Regions from separate parts of the Homo sapiens genome. Here all the other regions are linked to region 1. Evidence: promoter capture Hi-C in 16 types of primary human blood cells and fetal thymus (Javierre and others, 2016). All regions are on one chromosome and are shown on one strand. The core of a region is centred on a gene start or on the middle of the fragment in contact, and the rest is flanking DNA. Distances in the headings are between cores, read along the strand shown.

Region 1 (3,064 bases), core at 405-2,904:
ACGTCTTCTTTCCAGCTTCCTACTCCAGTCTTAATTGGTTCTACAGTTGTATTCCAGACTGAGGTTCCAGGAGGGGTTTTTCTTTGTCAAAACTTAAACCAGCTGTCCTGCAGATAGATTATAATGAGTGATTTTTCAGACTTTGCCCTTGACCCACAGGAAATTAACATCGTGATCCCAACACACAAACAGCAATGCTTTTATTAAATTTTACTAAACCTTACCATGTATCTATCCATCCAGAGGCGGAGTGGTCAGCCATTTCCCCATAGTTCACAGAAAGGCTCTGACTCTCCCTCCCTGGAACTGTGGTTGATCTGGGAACATGGGGGCAGACAGCAGCTGGAGAAGGTGGAGGCTATTCAAGTCGAAGCAGCAGATCGGCTTGTAGTTAAGCCCAGCTAGCCCTTCCGAGTCGGGGTGACCTGGCTTCTCCCCTCCCCTGACCCTCTCTTAAGTGCTTCTCAATCAGGAGCAGTTCGGCCCCGCAAGAGCACATTCACCAATGTCAGGAGACAGCGGTTGCCACAGCCAGCAGGAAGATAGAGGAGGGGCTACTGGCATCCAGTGGGTAGAGGCGGGGGATGTTGCTCAACACCCAGTGGTGCACAAGACACCCCCCAGCAGAAAATGATCCAGCCTCACCGTCAGTAGTGTCGCAGTTGGGAAACCCCGACTGTCCTCTGCTAAGTGTGTACTGAAAGAGGATCCTGAAGGAAGGGGCAGGTTCCCTTCGCATTGCCCAGACAGGAAATACAGACGGGGAACAGGAGCAGGGAATCTGCCTGGCTGTACCCCAGATTCCTCATCTGTGCAATGGGAGTGATGATGGTAGCACCTACGCGATGGGAGTGTGGTGCGAAGGAGCGTTAAGTGGGTGCCAGCTCTTACTACTGGCAGGAGCCCAGGGCTAGGGCCCAGCAAAGGGGTGGACACTGAGCGCCCCTTCCCAGCCACCCCTTGCGCCGGGCCCGGCATCCTCCTGAGTGCGGCTGGGAAAACCCAGGAGGCCCCGCGGCCTGGCCCCCAAGCAGGCCTGGCCTCGGCCGCCCAGCGCCAGGCCTTATGAATGACGCCGGCGGCGGCCGGGCGACCTCTGACCCGCGCGCCGGCCGCGCCCCTCCCCCGCTGGCAGGTGGACAGCGGCTGCGCCGGGCAGGCCGCGGCGCCAACTCCGGCTGGCCGACAGCCGCTGCCGCACTGAGCGGGGGCGGGGGACTGCGGCGCGCGCGGGGCCGGCCGGGCGCCCGCCGGGGCCGCCTCCTGAGCCTCGGAGCGCTGCGCGGCCGCCAGCCAGCCTCCGCCGCCCCGCCCCGCCGGCCCGGGCCCGCAGACTGCGTCTCCGCCCCGCCCTCTCACCCCCGGATTGACACTGAGCGTTCTGCTGGGGGGCTTGGCGGACCCGGCACCTCCGCCAATCGGCGGCCTCGCAGGGCGGACCCCGGGCCCAGTCCAGCGTCTCGGCCAATCGGACGCGTCTGCCCGCCCAGCTGCGGCCTCGCGAGCGAGTGAATGGCCGAGAGTCCGCGGTGCGTGTCCCGAGGCTGAGAGCCTATAGTGGCGCGGGAAGGTCGCGGGAGGGCCAATGGGAGGCGGCGCTGAGCCGTCAGTCAGGGCGGCCTAGGCCAATGAGCGGCGGGCTGCGGGGGCGTCACAGACAGCGGCAGAGATCTTGGGCTGAGGTTCCCGGGCGGGCGGGCGCGGAGAGACGCGGGAAGCAGGGGCTGGGCGGGGGTCGCGGCGCCGCAGCTAGCGCAGCCAGCCCGAGGGCCGCCGCCGCCGCCGCCCAGCGCGCTCCGGGGCCGCCGGCCGCAGCCAGCACCCGCCGCGCCGCAGCTCCGGGACCGGCCCCGGCCGCCGCCGCCGCGATGGGCAACGCCGCCGCCGCCAAGAAGGGCAGCGAGCAGGAGAGCGGTGAGTGCCCGGGCTGTGACCCCGATCTTGGCCCTGCGCTGCCAGCCCTGGCCTTGTCCATCATCGCCTGGCCCCTCCCCCTACGGGGCCCCTCATCCTCTCTGCCTACCCCCCAGCGCCCCTTGCCCCGGCCTGTCCAAGGCTGGGGCCCGCGGGCCCGCAGAGTACCCCCTGTAGGGGTCCCCTTCCCCTAGGGCCGCCCCATGCTGCAAAGACCGTGCTCCCCCCCAGCTGTCACTGCCAACCATGGCACGTATGACCGCTGGGGCCCCACATGGGCCCCTGTCACCAGCCTACCCCCTCCTTTCCTGGCCCCTCTTCCCAGATTCTAATCCCCCCACTTCCTCACTCACCTCTCTCACCTATGGGATCCTCTGCCTGACCCCGACCCAGGTTTCTACCAGTTTGGGAATGCGATGAGGTCTGTCTGCCTCCACCGCGCAGGGACCTTGGCCACTTGCTGACCACACCCCTCCCCCCTCCAGCCCCCGCCATCTTTCTCCTGCCCTTTCCCTCTTCACCTTAGCACAGCCCCCCCTTCCAAACCCATCCTGCCCCCTGAACATTTCCCAGAGCCACCTCCAGCATTATTTTTTTCTTCTGTGTCACTTGGCATGGGGGACAGGATCTTTCTGGGTCCCTCTGCCTCTCTCATCCTGTCACTCTGTCATTCTGCTGCTCTGCTTGTGCTCCGTCCTCCAAGCAAGCGTCTGTCCCTGGCTGGGGTAGCAGACTGTTTATGAACGTAGAGAATTGCTTCAGTGCTTCCAAAGCCAAGTTTGAGCTGGTCTTGTTGGGATTCATTGCATCCTCTTTCCTGCGTTGGGGTAAGGGGGTGGTGGCAGAGCCCCCTCTCATTTCCTGTCTTGCAGTGAGCTCTAGGCTCCATGGAGGGCCCCTCAATAAATGGTCGTTTCACAACTGAGGCTCCGTCATTCACCCAGTCCCTGGGGCTTCTTCCACCACTCCTGGCTTGGGATGAAAAGTGTCTGGGTTTAGCGAGGTTCATTCGGTTCTAACTGAGATGGTCAGAAAGAGCACTGGGGAGGAGGAGGCAGTCAAAGAGAGTAATGGGTGACGTCTAGTGATTTGCTTTGACGTCTAGTGATTCTGATCATTCCCAGGGCTCAGCCAGAGAGAGACCTGTTTC
Region 2 (3,064 bases), core at 389-2,888, 420 kb before region 1:
CTCTGCCTCCTACTCCTTGGGACCCGCCTCCCCCTCCTCGACACCCCTCCCCGTCCTCAAGCCCCACCTCCTCCTCCTCGGCCCCGCCCCCTCCTCGGCCCCTCCTCCCCACATCTGCCCCGTGTCCAGAGGTCCAGAGGTGAGTAGGGCCGTACTACTTGTCAAATGTTAGCTGCTGCAAGGTGCTGCACCAAGCTGAGGCTTTCCAGGTATGTATCTGCTCATACGATGCTCACCAGACCAAGAAACCCTTGAAACGATAACCCTGGGAGGCAGGGACAATTATCCCAGTCAATATGAACATTGGGCAGGAGAGAGGAAGGGGCCTCAGCTGTAGCATTTGCCACTTTCCGTGATGTAAATACCCTACCTGTGACTTAGAGATGTCAGCCTGATATCCCTGAACACAGAGTTGGGAAGATGCACACCATCAGCCAATGTCAGCCGGGTCTCGCACACCCAGGTGTCATTTTATGGATTAAAAAGCTAGTTCAAGGCCAGCCGCTGTGGCTCACGCCTGTAATCCCAACACTCTGGGAGGCCAAGGTGGGAGAATCACTTAAGGTCAGGAGTTCAAGACCAGCCTGGCCAATATGGTGAAACCCCATCTCTACTAAAAATACAAAAATTAGCCGGGCGTGGTGGTGGGCGCCTGTAATCCCAGCTACTCAGGAGGCTGAGGCAGGAGAATCGCTTGAACCCAGGAGGCAGAGGTTGCAGTGAGCCTAGATGGCACCACTGCACTCCAGCCTGGGCAACAGAGGGGGACTCTGTCTCACGAAAAAAAAAAAAAAAAACTAGCTCGAGAAACTAAAGACCTTGCCCGTGGGCTCCAAACCTTGTCAGTGGCAGTTAAGCATATGAGCCTAGCACTGATCCAAAGCCCGTAAGCATTGCCACCTTCCCAGGAAGAGTATCAATCAATACTGCCCAACCCAAAGGGGAACTGGCCTGCAGCCCTGGAAAAGGCCTTGTTCTCTGGGTCTCAGGTCCCTCATCTGTAACTTTACAGAAGTTAAACCAGAAAAATTATCTCAAGCCTGGGGCTCTGAGATTCTGAGTGCCTACAGCAAAGAAATGGCCTAAGTACAAAGCTACAGCCAGGACAGAAGGGACTCCACCAGGAGAATCTGCCCAGTGAGTCACCATCTGCTCAAAGCAAGAAGCCTGCAGGAAAATCTGAAAAGCCTAAGATCCCCTCCAACCCCCTCAGGATCTTGGCCTGAGTCAGGCTAACATAGGAAAGGTCTTTATAGCTCACCACAGCTCAAGGCTCACCACTTTCCCTTTTTTTTTTTTTTTTTTTTTGAGACAGAGTCTCACTCTGTTGCCCAGGACCGGAATGCAGTGGTGCGATCTCAGCTCGTCCGCGACCTCCACCTCCCAGGTTCAAACGAATTCTCCTGCCTCAGTCTCTCGAGTACCTGGGATTACAGGAGTGCACCATGATGCCTGGCTAATTTATATATACATACATATATATATATATATATATATATATATATATATATATATATATATTTTTTTTTTTTTTTTTTTTTTTTTTTTTTTTTTTTTTGAGACGGAGTCTCGCTCTGTCGCCCAGGCTGGAGTGCAGTGGCGCGATCTCGGCTCACTGCAAGCTCCGCCTCCCGGGTCAAGCCATTCTCCTGCCTCAGCCTCCCAAGTAGCTGGGACTACAGGTACCCACCACCACACTCAGCTAACTTTTTCTATTTTTTAGTAGAGACGGGGTTTCACTGTGTTAGCCAGGATGGTCTCGATCTCCTGGCCTCGTGATTCACCCACCTCGGCCTCCCAAAGTGCTGGGATTACAGGCATGAGCCACTGCACCCGGCCAATTTTTATATTTTTAGTGGAGAGGGGGTTTCGCCATGTTGGCCAGGCTAGTCTTGAACTCCTGACCTCAGGTGATCCTCCTGCCTCAGCCTCCCAACGTGCTGGGATTACAGGCATGAACCACTGCACCCAGGCAAGGCTCATCACTCTCAATCCTGCCCTTACTGCAAGGGGCAGCCCATCCGATTTTAGGGCAGAGAAAGACCCTCTCCCAGCAGTCCACACTGACCCGCAGCACCTCGCCCTCCCTTCAGGGATGCTCTGTCCTCAGAACACAGCAGGAGAGCCACCAGCTGTCCTAGGGCAGCATCAGCAGAGAAGCCATCAGTGTGGACAAAACTGGAGTCTGACAAACCCAGGTTCAGCTCCCTGGCTTCCAGGCTCTGTGACCTTGACCAGCTTAGTTTACCTCTCTGAGCTTCAGTTGCATTATCTGTAAAGTAGAACAGTAGTTCCCATCTGATCAGGTGCTAATAAGACTCACCCCTGGGCAAGGTGCGGTGGCTCACACCTATAATCCCAGCACTTTGGGATGCCAAGGCAGGAGGATCGCTTGAGCCCAGGAGTTCGAGACCAGCCTGGACTAACATGGTGAAACCCCATCTCTACTAAAACTACAGAAATTAGCCGGGCATGGTGGCACCCACCTGTAATAACAGCTACTTGGGAGGCTGAGGCAGGAAAATCGCTTGAACCGGGGAGGTGGAGGTTGCAGTGAGGTGAGATCACATCACTGCACTCCAGCCTGGGTGACAGAGCGAGACTCTGTCACAAAAAAAAAAAAAAAAAAAAAAAAAAAAAAGGCCAGGCATGGTGGCTCACTCCTGTAATCCCAGCACCCTGGGAGGCCGAGGCGGGCGGATCATAAGGTCAGGAGATCGAGACCATCCTGGCTAACACGGTGAAACCTCATCTCTACTAAAAATACAAAAAATTAGCCAGGCATGGTGGCAGGCACCTGTAGTTCCAGCTACTCGGGAGGCTGAGGCAGGAGAATGGCGTGAACCCGGGAGGCGGAGCTTACAGTGAGCCAAGATGGAGCCACTGCACTCCAGCCTGGGCGAGAGTGCGAGACTCTGTGTAAAAAAAAAAAAAGAAAGAAAACACCCTAAATGTGGGTTATGGGGGACCCCAAGAGGCTCGCTTCTGGGTATTCAGCTGCGGGAAATGGGCAGTGACCTGGACTGCTGGAGGCTGAAGACAGACTGATTTTCTCAGGAATTAA
Region 3 (3,064 bases), core at 198-2,697, 380 kb before region 1:
GGTGTTTGCCAGCTGGGTGGGGCTGGCTAGGCAATCCTCAGCAGCAAAGCTCAAGGTTCCATCTCCCATTTTAGTTTGCCCCTCTGCAGGTCCTGGTGGGACTGATATGCACAACATCTCACCCTGGGAACTGCAAAGAACCAGTCTTTCTATGGAGCTTGAGCAGGGTCTCAGCACTTAGAGGCTTCCAGGAACTACAGTTCCCAGAACACACAGCATTCAGCCCCAGTTGCTGTCCAAGTGGCTGGGTTTGAACTAGAACAAGGAAATCTCACTTGTCCCGGGAACTGAGCGTCCTGGCCTGGTCCAGGTGCATTTGTGACTCTTGTTTCTTGGATCTGTGTCCACCTGATAAATCCCCCTTCCTTATAAACTACATGGTCTATTTGTCCACACAGGTTTGCTGAGAACCTGCCGTGTGGCAGCCTGAGGTGGGAGTGAGGGGTTGACAAGAGAGACTCAGCCTCCACCCTCACAGTCAGATGGAGGAGACAGATCTATGAAAGGCTGGCTGGGTACCTTCTGTGACCTAGCACATAAACAAACCAACAAGCAGATAAACTATCTCACCCTTGTCTTTCATTGCATCTTGCCTTTCCACACTGATTTACTAGCTCCCACGATATTGCAGTATCCTAAAGCGTGCTGTATCTCTCTGTCCGGCTTTTGCACGCTCTGTTACCTCTACCAGGAGCACATTCAGCTTATTCACTGACGCGTCTTCAGAGGTAGGACAGAGTCTGGCACGGAGCAGTCTGGCACATTAAATATTTGATGAGTGAGTGAACGAATGAATGAATGAATGCCTTTGTCCATTGTACAGCCCAGGAAGCAGGGAAACTCGGGACCCTCCCTATTCATCTCGATCCCCCGCCCGCCCCCAGAGATTGAATGCATCTTTTTATCCGCTCCGAGGATGGCCAGGCTGGGGCAGAGGAGGCCGGGCAGGGAACTGGGTTGGGGACTGCCATTGACCCCCACCCAGGTCTCCTAAACTGTCCGCTTTCCTGGACGTCGGAAGTTCGAATCCTTTCCCCGAAACCTGGCCTAGGTCACCTGACTCCCCCGCCCCTCACCACCCAGGGCACCCGAGACTGACACTCAGCCGACAGCACGTGGTTCAGGGGCCCCAGCTTCCTTCCCATTGGCCGCTTGTCTCCTTCCTCCCTCGCGATTGGCCGGGGCCCAGCTGCAGCTCCCCCCCCTCCTCAGCCCTCCGGTGGTACAGCCAGCCGCGGCTTAGGCGGGGCGGAACGGTCCACTGCTTCGCGGCGAGGGGAGGAGTCGGGAAGAGCCGGGCGAGGCGGAGGGATCCCTCTGGAATGTTTCCGTCGGGTCCACCCGAAGCGGAAGACGCGGATTGGCTGCGAGCACCGAGAGGCAGCCGCTGATTGGCCGGCCGCGGGCGTCGGCCCCGCCCCCCAGGCGCCGCTGCGGGAGAGGCCCGGTCTGGAGTTTGCGGAGGGCCGAGCCGGGTGCGCACGGGGAGGCGGAGGCAGCGGCGGCGGCGGCGGCGGCGGCGGCGGCGGCGGAGCAGGTGAGTGGCCTCTGCGAGAAGGATGTGTCTGCTCCGGGGGCCTCGGGGGTCGCGGGCCTGCGAGGATCCGGCCGATCCTGCAGGGTGGGGCCGGCGCCGTGGACGCGACTGGAGGTCTAGGCTGCGCGCGGGGATGCCGGAGGCCCCTTCCCAGGGGAAGCGGGGGTGGGGGGTGGTGGGGGCAGCTCCCTTCCTGCTGGCGGGCAGGGGACAAACGCCTCCCAACGCTGGGCTGGGGTTTCTGGGCTTGCCCCTCCCCCCGTCCCCCGGCTGGACTGTCCCCATCCCAGCGTGGACAGGCGCGGGGTCAGTGTTTCTGACCCTTTCCTGGGCACTTCCCCTGAGCTAACCGCGTCTGAACCCTCCAGGGCCTTGGGGGGGACGCAGTGAGGACCACGGTCTGAATAATAATCGTCATGAAAAACTCCACCTCAGCTAGCATTTATTGGAGAGCTTCCGTGTCAGGCATTTACCATGAGGATAATTGACTCTAAACACCTCATGGGAGGTGCTGTGCCTTCTTGTAAAAAAGGTGAGGCAGCCTACCCAGAGAGGTGGAGTGACTTGCCCAAGGTCACACAGCTAGTAACTGGCACATCTGGGACTGGAACTCATGCCCCAGGGTCCAGAACTGGAGTCACACCCACTAGACTGGATACCAATAACTCCACGGCTCAGTTGTTGCTGAGTAGCTCCGGCCCCCTACCCCTCCCACCCCCTACCCCGTACTCATCATCAGGGCCACACCTGCTGGTCTTTTGCTTTACCAGCCACTCAAACAGGAAGCTGCCCTCCTTTCCCTTCTCCCCAGAGCTGGAGAGGGCAGGTCTAACTACCTGGGTCCAGAGAAGAGAGTGGCGTCTGCAGGGGGCCAGGATGCTGGGGTCTGGGCCCACTGGGTTCCCCCCTGGCAACCTGGGCCGAGGCTGGGAAGTAGGCGTTCTCCCCGGAAACACCCAGGAGCCGGTTTTTCAAGAGTGAATCAGAGGCCTCTTTCCCTCCTTCTCTCCAAAGCAACACTGTGCTGGAACGGGGAGCCTGGGCGTGGTTTCCCCCTTCCCCTAGCTTCTGTGTGCTCCCAGGAACCCCCTTCCCCTCCTCCTGCTGGCCACACTGCTTCTGTGTGGCCGTGGGGTTGCTAAGTTTCAGGCCCTTCCCAGGATGAGGGGGTGAGGATGCTGAAATTCCAGCCCAAACACTCAATATCCGGGCTGAAGTGGCTCTTCATCTCTGTGTTCAGGTGTGAGGGGAGCCAGGGAAAGTGGGGAGCCTAGGACAGTTGGCAACCGCACAGCAGGCATGTTTAGGGGGCTGTTTCAAGGATGGGGAGCACAGAGAGCAATCAGAACGAGGACCTGAGACACATTCATTCACTCAGTCTACAAATATTTAGTGAGCACCTGCTACGTGCATGTGCTAGGCACTGTTCTTGGCACAGAAAATGCAACAGTGAACAAAACAAAATCCCTACTTTTGAGGAGTTGGCACTCTGAAAGGAAGGAAGCAGCCAACAAACAAGTTAGCAAG
Region 4 (3,064 bases), core at 331-2,830, 360 kb after region 1:
CCCATGCCTCCTCCTCCAGGAAGTCTGTCCTGATTCCTGGCCAACCGGGACCACCACCTTGAGACTCTTGTTACTCTGGAAGGGGACCATGTCTGTGGTCACAGCTATGACCCTATACCAGCATTTGCTGATGAGAGGCCTACCAAGCTTGGTCAAGGTGGGGGGGTGGGGGGGCAGCCCCAGGGTCCATCTAACAACCCAAGACAGGGAAGAAGAGACAGGTCTTTAATGTACGGAGTCTCACAAGGCACAAACACCCTCACCAGGACCAAATAAATAACTCCACGGTTGCAGGAAGGCGCGGTCTGGGGAGGATGCGGCATCTGAGCTCTCCCAGGGCTGGTGGGCGAGCCGGGGGTCTGCAGTCTGTGAGGGGCCTCCTGGGTGTGTCCGGGCCTCTAGAGCGGGTCCAGTCTCCAGGATGGGGATCGCTCACTCACTCTCCGAGTCGGAGTAGTCCGCCACGAGGGAGGAGCCGAGACTGCAGGGGTGCCGCGTGTCGGGGGTGTCAGCTGCCTCCTGGGAGGAGCCTGCTGGCGACAGGGGCTTGTCCTGACGGCTCCCTTCCTGCCCCCTCGGGCTGCTGCACTTGGGGGTCTCAGTTGTTTCCGGAGGACAGTCTCCGGGGGACATGGGCCGGTCCTGGGCAGCCTCCTCTGGTACCCGCGGTTCCCCAGACTTGGGGGTGTCGGCCGCATGCTGGGGGCTCTCCGGGACGTCCCGAGACCTCCGCCGCACGATGCCCAGGTCCCCGACGGTGATGGGGGAGGTGGCAAGCGCGGTTCTGCGGCTCTGTGCCAGCTTCTTCAGGACGCCGCTGACCTTGCTGCTGGAGGCGGATCCGGGGGCAGAGGGGAACCAGGAGCGGCTGATGATCTCGGTCCGCTTGAGTTTCTGCTTGTCCTCGTAGGCTAGAGGAGAGGAGAGGACATTTCAGGGGCGGCAGGGGAGGGGGTCCAGAACTGCCCTCTGGTAGACCAGAGTCCACTCATGGCTGAGGACCCCCCATCTCCAGGCAACTCTGAGCCTCCCTGTCCCCTTTTCCCCCTGGCCTCCTACGCACAGTCCAGGGTGTGGAACTTCAGCAGAGCCGCCAGCTTGCGGTCATCTTCCGTCTCGGGCACCAGCGGGATGGTCAGGCTCGCCTTGGCCTGCAAGGCCTGGTCTCTCTCCTCCTCCTCCTGGATGGCTTTTTTCTTTTCCTGTGTTGAGGGCCAAGAACACCAGAGATAGGGGGTGTCAAAGCCCTGTCTCTTCTGTGTACTAGGGGGCACTGCTCCAACTCTCGGGGTCTCATTTACTCTTTTTGAGACAGTTTCATTCTGTCGCCCAGACTGGAGTGCAGTGGCACAATCATAGCTCACTGCAGCCTCGAACTCCTGGGCTCAAGCGATTCTCTCATGTCAGCCTCCCAAGTATCCAGTACTACAGATGTGCACCACCACGCCCAGCTAATTAAAACATTTATTTTTGTAGAGACTGGGCCTGGTAGTTCATGTCTGTAATCCCAGCACTTTGGGAGGCTGAGGCGGGTGGATCCCTTGAGGCCAGTAGTTTGAGACCAGCTTGGCCATCAAGGCAAAATCCTGTCTCTATTAAAAATATAAAAATTAGCCAGGCATGGTGGCATGCGCCTATGGTCCTAGCTACTTGGGAGGCTGAGGCATGAAAATCACTTCAACCGGGGAGGTGGAGGTTGCGGTGGGCTGAGATCGTTGTCACTGCACTCCAGCCAGGGCGAAAGGGGGGAGACTGTTTCAAAAAAAAAAAAAAATTTTTTTTTGTAGAGATGGGGTCTCACTATGTTGCCCAGGCTGGTCTCCAACTCATGGCCTCAAACAATCCTCCCACCTGAGCCTCCCAAAGCACTGGGATTACAGGTGTGAGCCACCACGCACGGCCTCATCCCACAAATATTTCTGGGATACCCACCTTGTGCTAGGCTTTGTTCTGGACACTCGGCATACAGTGGCAGGCAGGGAAAAACCCTTGCCCTGGTGGAGCTGGCCTCTAGTGGTGAGACAGTGATAAGGAGAAAAAAAATGCAGGACAGGTGGGTAGGGGATGGGCTGGGCGGTTCCATTTATTTTTTAATTTAGTTTAATTCTATATTTTTTTGAGACAAGAGTCTTGCTCTGTCGGCCAGGCTGGAGTGCAGTGGCACGATCTCAGCTCACTGCAAACTCCACCTCCCAGGTTCACGCCATTCTCTTGCCTCAGCCTCCCAAGTAGCTGGGACTACAGGCACCCGCCACCACACCTGGCTAATTTTTTTTTGCATTTTTAGTAGAGACGGGGTTTCACCATGTTAGCCAGGATGGTCTCGATCTCCTGACCTCGTGATCCGCCTGCCTCAGCCTCCCAAAGTGCTGGGATTACAGATGTGAGCCACCGCGCCCAGCCAAGAGGTTCCATTTAAAATGTGGTGGCCAGGTCAGATGCAGTGGCTCACGCCTGTAATCCTAGCACTTTGGGAGGTTGAGGTGGGTGGATCACATGAGGCCAGGATTTCGAGACCAGCCTGGCCAACATGGTGATACCCAGTCTCTACTAAAAATACAAAAATTAGCCATGCACAGTGGTGGGAACCTGGAATCCCAGCTACTTGGGAGGCTGAGGCAGGAGAATTGCTTGAACCTGGGGTGGAGGCTTCAGTGAGCCGGGATCATGCCACTGCACTGCAGCATGGGCGACGAGCGAGACTCAGTCTAAGCAAAAACAAAACACAAAAAACCCAACATTAGCCAGGTGTGATGGCTCATGCCTGTGGGTCCCAGCTACTTGGGAGGCTTAGTGGGGAGGATTGCTTGAACCTGGGACATCGAGGCTGCAGTGAGACATGATTTGCCGCTGTACTCCAGCCTGGGCAACAGAGTGAGACCCAGTCACAAAAAGAAAAAAAATAAATAAATAAAAGGAGGCAACCAGGTAGGTATCTCCCATGGCATGGTGAGGTAGGGGTGAGCTATGGTCTCAATGTCTGTGTCCCCCAAATTGATATGTTGAAGCTTAATCCTCAACGTTGACAGTGTTAAAAGATGTGAGGCATTTGGGGAAGTAATTA
Region 5 (3,064 bases), core at 247-2,746, 310 kb before region 1:
GGTCAGGAGTTCAAGACCAGCCTGGCCAAGATGGTGAAACCCCATCTCTACTAAAAATACAAAAATTATCTGGGTGTTGTGGTGGGCACCTGTAATCCCAGCTACTTGGGTGGCTGAGGCAGAGAACTGTTTGAACCCAGGAGGCAGAGGTTGCAGTGAGCCGAGACAGTGCCATGCACTCTGGCCTGGGTGATAGAGCAAGACTCCGTTTCAAATAAAAAACAAAAATCATGCTACTGCATTCCAGCCTGGGCAACAGAGTGAGACCAAAGAAACAAAAAAACAAACCACCTCCCACCGTCAAAAAAAAAACAAACAAAAACAAATAGTCTCACCTTACTTCCAACCACATGGCCCTTGCACTGGCTGTTATCTGTTCTGGAATGCTTTTCTATCACATCTTTCCAGGGCTGGCCCCTTTTGCTCATTTAGTTATCTGTTTAAATGTAACATCTTCTGAGCAATCTTCCTAGACCACACCGACGTCATTTCTGGCCCTTGGCCCTGTTTGATTATTTTGCATGTTACTCCTCCCTGAAATTGCACAGAGCCTGTGCTACGTCCGTCTTTGTGAAAGGAATGAGTGGGCACAGTATGAGGTATCAGGCGAAAGGTATCCCAGACTGCAAAGGCTGGAGGGGGTAGCTGTCGCACTTCAGAGGAAGCAGTCAGTGTAGGCTTCCCTGAAGGGCAGGTACTGGAGTAAACTTGGGAAAGACAAGCTAGAAAACTGCAAGGTAGGCTGGGCACGGTGGCTCACGCCTGTAATCCCAGCACTTTGGAAGGCCGAGGTGGGTGGATCACGAGGCCAGGAGATTGAGACCGTCCTGGCTAACACAGTGAAACCCCGTCTCTACTAAAAATACAAAAAAAGGCCAGGCGCGGTGGCTTATGCCTGTAATCCAAGCACTTTGGAAGGCCGAGACGGGAGGATCACAATGTCAGGAGTTGGAGAGCAGCCTGGCCAATATGGTGAAACCCTGTCTCTACCAAAAATATAAAAATTAGTCAGGCGTGGTGGTGGGCGCCTGTAGTCCCAGCTACTCGGGAGGCTGAGGCAGGAGAATCGCTTGAACCTGGGAGGCAGAGGTTGCAGTGAGCCGAAATCATGCCACTGCACTCCAGTCTGGGCGACAGAGCAAGACTCTCTCAAAAAAAAAAAAAAAAGGACTAAGCGTAGTGCCTCAGGCCTGTAGTCCCAGTACTTTGGGAGGCAGAGGTGGGAGGATTGCAGAGGACAGGAGTTCTAGACCAGCCTGGGCAGCATAGGGAGAGCATCATCTTTAGTTATTATTATTATTATTATTGAGACAAAATCTTGCTCTGTCACCCAGTTTGAAGTGTAATGGCACGATCTCGGCTCACTGCAACCTCTGCCTCCCAGGTTTAAGCAATTCTCCTGTCTCAGCCTCCTGAGTAGCTGGGATTACAGGCGTGTGCCACCGCGCCTGGCTAATTTTTTGTGTTTTTAGTAGAGATGGGGTTTCACCATGTTGGCCAGGCTGGTCTTGAGCTCCTGACCTCAAGTGATCCACCCACCTCAGCTTCCCAAAGTGCTGGGATTACAGGCAGGAGCCACTGGGCCCAGCTTCTAGTTATTTTTTAATGATACTAAAGAGAAAGAAAGGAACAAAATGATGCAGTCTGATACCATTTGTATCAAACACACACACACACACACACACACATATATATATAAAGTGAAAAAATGTATAAAGTAAAGGAGGCTGGGCGGGGTGGCTCATGCCTATAATCCTAGCACTTTGGGGAGGCAGAGGCGGGAAGATTGCTTGAGCTCAGGAGTTCCAGAGCAGCCTGGACAACATGGCAAAACCTCATTTCTTCTAAGAAATACAAAAATTAGTGGGCCAAGGAGGTGGAGGTTACAGTGAGCTGAGATCTCACCTGGCACTATGGCCCGAGTGAAAGCCAGACTGTTTATTTTTTTCTTTTTATTTATATCATGTAATTTTATTTTTTGAAACGGAGTCTCGCTCTGTCGCCCAGGCTGGAGTGCAGTGGTGTGATCTCAGCTCACTGCAGCCTCCACCTCCCAGGTTCACAAGATTATTCTGCCTCAGACAACTGAGTAGCTGGGATTACAGGTGCCTGCCACCATGCCCAGATAATTTTTGTAGTTTTAGTAGAGACGAGTTTTCTCCATTTTAGCCAGGCTGGTCTTGAACTCTTGACCTCAGGTGATTCACCCGCCTCGGTTCCCAAAGTGCTGGGATTACAGGCGTGAGCCACTGTGCCTGGCCCAGACCCTGTTTGAAAAAAAATAAAAATTAGTCGGGCATGGTGGCAGGTGCCTGTAATCCCAGCTACTCGGAAGGCTGAGGCAGAAGAATCGCTTAAACCCGAGAGGTGGTGGTTGCAGTTAGCCGAGATCGTGCCACTGCACTCCAGCCTGGGGAACAAGAGTGAAACTCCGTCTCAAAAAAAAAAAAAAAAAAAAAAAAAGTAAATGGGAAAAATAAAAAGGGAAATGAAAGGAAATTTATATGAAGTAGCTTTTTAGCTTTTTTTTTTTCCTTTGGTAGAGAAGAGGTCTCACCACATTGCCCAAGCTAGTCTTGAACTTCCTGCCTCAGCCTTCCAAAGTTCTGGGATTACATGTGTGAGCCACTACACCCAGTACCTTTTCTATGTTTTGATATGTATAGATATCCAAATACCTACCATTGTAACATCACAAAGAAGATGAAGGTAAAAACAACAAAACAAATACTTAGCATTGTGTTGCAATTGCCTACAGTATTCAGACAGTTACACACTGTCCGGGTTGGTAGCCTAGGAGCAGTAGGCTTTATATAGCAGGGGTCCCCACCCCCACCCCTCCCTGGCCTTGTGGCCTGTCAGGGACCAGGCCACACAGCAGGAGGTGAGTGATGGGTGAGCATTACCTACAGCCTGAGCTCTGCCTCCTCTCAGATCAGCAACAGCATTAGATTCTCATAGCAGCTCAACCCTATTGTGAACTGTGCATGTGAGGGATCGAGGTTGCCCATTCCTTATGAGAATCTAACTAATGCCTGATGATCTGAGGTGGAACAATTTCATC

Evidence for each region. Contacts are between HindIII fragments. The CHiCAGO score rates a contact against its expected background, and 5 or more counts as called.
Region 2: a contact is called between a fragment that was not itself captured here and the fragment with the promoter of PRKACA in region 1, in 3 of 17 cell types (naive CD8 T cells, non-activated CD4 T cells and naive CD4 T cells). The highest score is 5.9, in naive CD8 T cells.
Region 3: the fragment with the promoter of GIPC1 here is called in contact with the fragment with the promoter of PRKACA in region 1 in 7 of 17 cell types (fetal thymus, activated CD4 T cells, non-activated CD4 T cells and 4 more); the score reaches 9.8 in fetal thymus.
Region 4: a fragment that was not itself captured here is called in contact with the fragment with the promoter of PRKACA in region 1 in 3 of 17 cell types (non-activated CD4 T cells, total CD8 T cells and monocytes); the score reaches 5.7 in non-activated CD4 T cells.
Region 5: a contact is called between a fragment that was not itself captured here and the fragment with the promoter of PRKACA in region 1, in 10 of 17 cell types (naive CD4 T cells, activated CD4 T cells, fetal thymus and 7 more). The highest score is 11.2, in naive CD4 T cells.

The regions. Positions count from the first base shown.
Region 1 is chr19:14,116,352-14,119,415 of GRCh38, reverse strand. PRKACA (protein kinase cAMP-activated catalytic subunit alpha) reads left to right here and starts at 1,654. Exons shown (of 10, transcript NM_002730.4): 1 at 1,654-1,914. The coding sequence starts at 1,869. LOC124904642 (a long non-coding RNA gene) reads right to left here and starts at 1,202. Exons shown (of 2, transcript XR_007067144.1): 1 at 225-1,202; 2 at 1-107. RefSeq lists silencers at 1,034-1,593, 2,004-2,073. The HindIII fragment of the contact is 7,542 bases long and covers 1-3,064 here.
Region 2 is chr19:14,534,001-14,537,064 of GRCh38, reverse strand. The region is part of intron 1 of TECR (trans-2,3-enoyl-CoA reductase); the gene reads right to left. It also overlaps a transcript of DNAJB1 not described here. Among named protein-coding and RNA genes, the nearest start is that of TECR, 5.9 kb to the right of the region's middle. The HindIII fragment of the contact is 5,775 bases long and covers 1-3,064 here.
Region 3 is chr19:14,494,510-14,497,573 of GRCh38, reverse strand. It overlaps GIPC1 (GIPC PDZ domain containing family member 1), which reads left to right and starts at 1,447. Exons shown (of 9, transcript NM_005716.4): 1 at 1,447-1,537. RefSeq lists silencers at 1,114-1,173, 1,314-1,543 and an enhancer at 1,206-2,132. The HindIII fragment of the contact is 11,428 bases long and covers 1-3,064 here.
Region 4 is chr19:13,760,437-13,763,500 of GRCh38, reverse strand. YJU2B (YJU2 splicing factor homolog B) reads right to left here. Exons shown (of 10, transcript NM_030818.4): 9 at 1,064-1,202; 10 at 212-911. The coding sequence ends at 433. Among named protein-coding and RNA genes, the nearest start is that of MRI1, 2.6 kb to the left of the region's middle. RefSeq lists an enhancer at 252-768. The HindIII fragment of the contact is 2,861 bases long and covers 150-3,010 here.
Region 5 is chr19:14,423,341-14,426,404 of GRCh38, reverse strand. No RefSeq gene overlaps it. Among named protein-coding and RNA genes, the nearest start is that of DDX39A, 5.5 kb to the right of the region's middle. The HindIII fragment of the contact is 8,906 bases long and covers 1-3,064 here.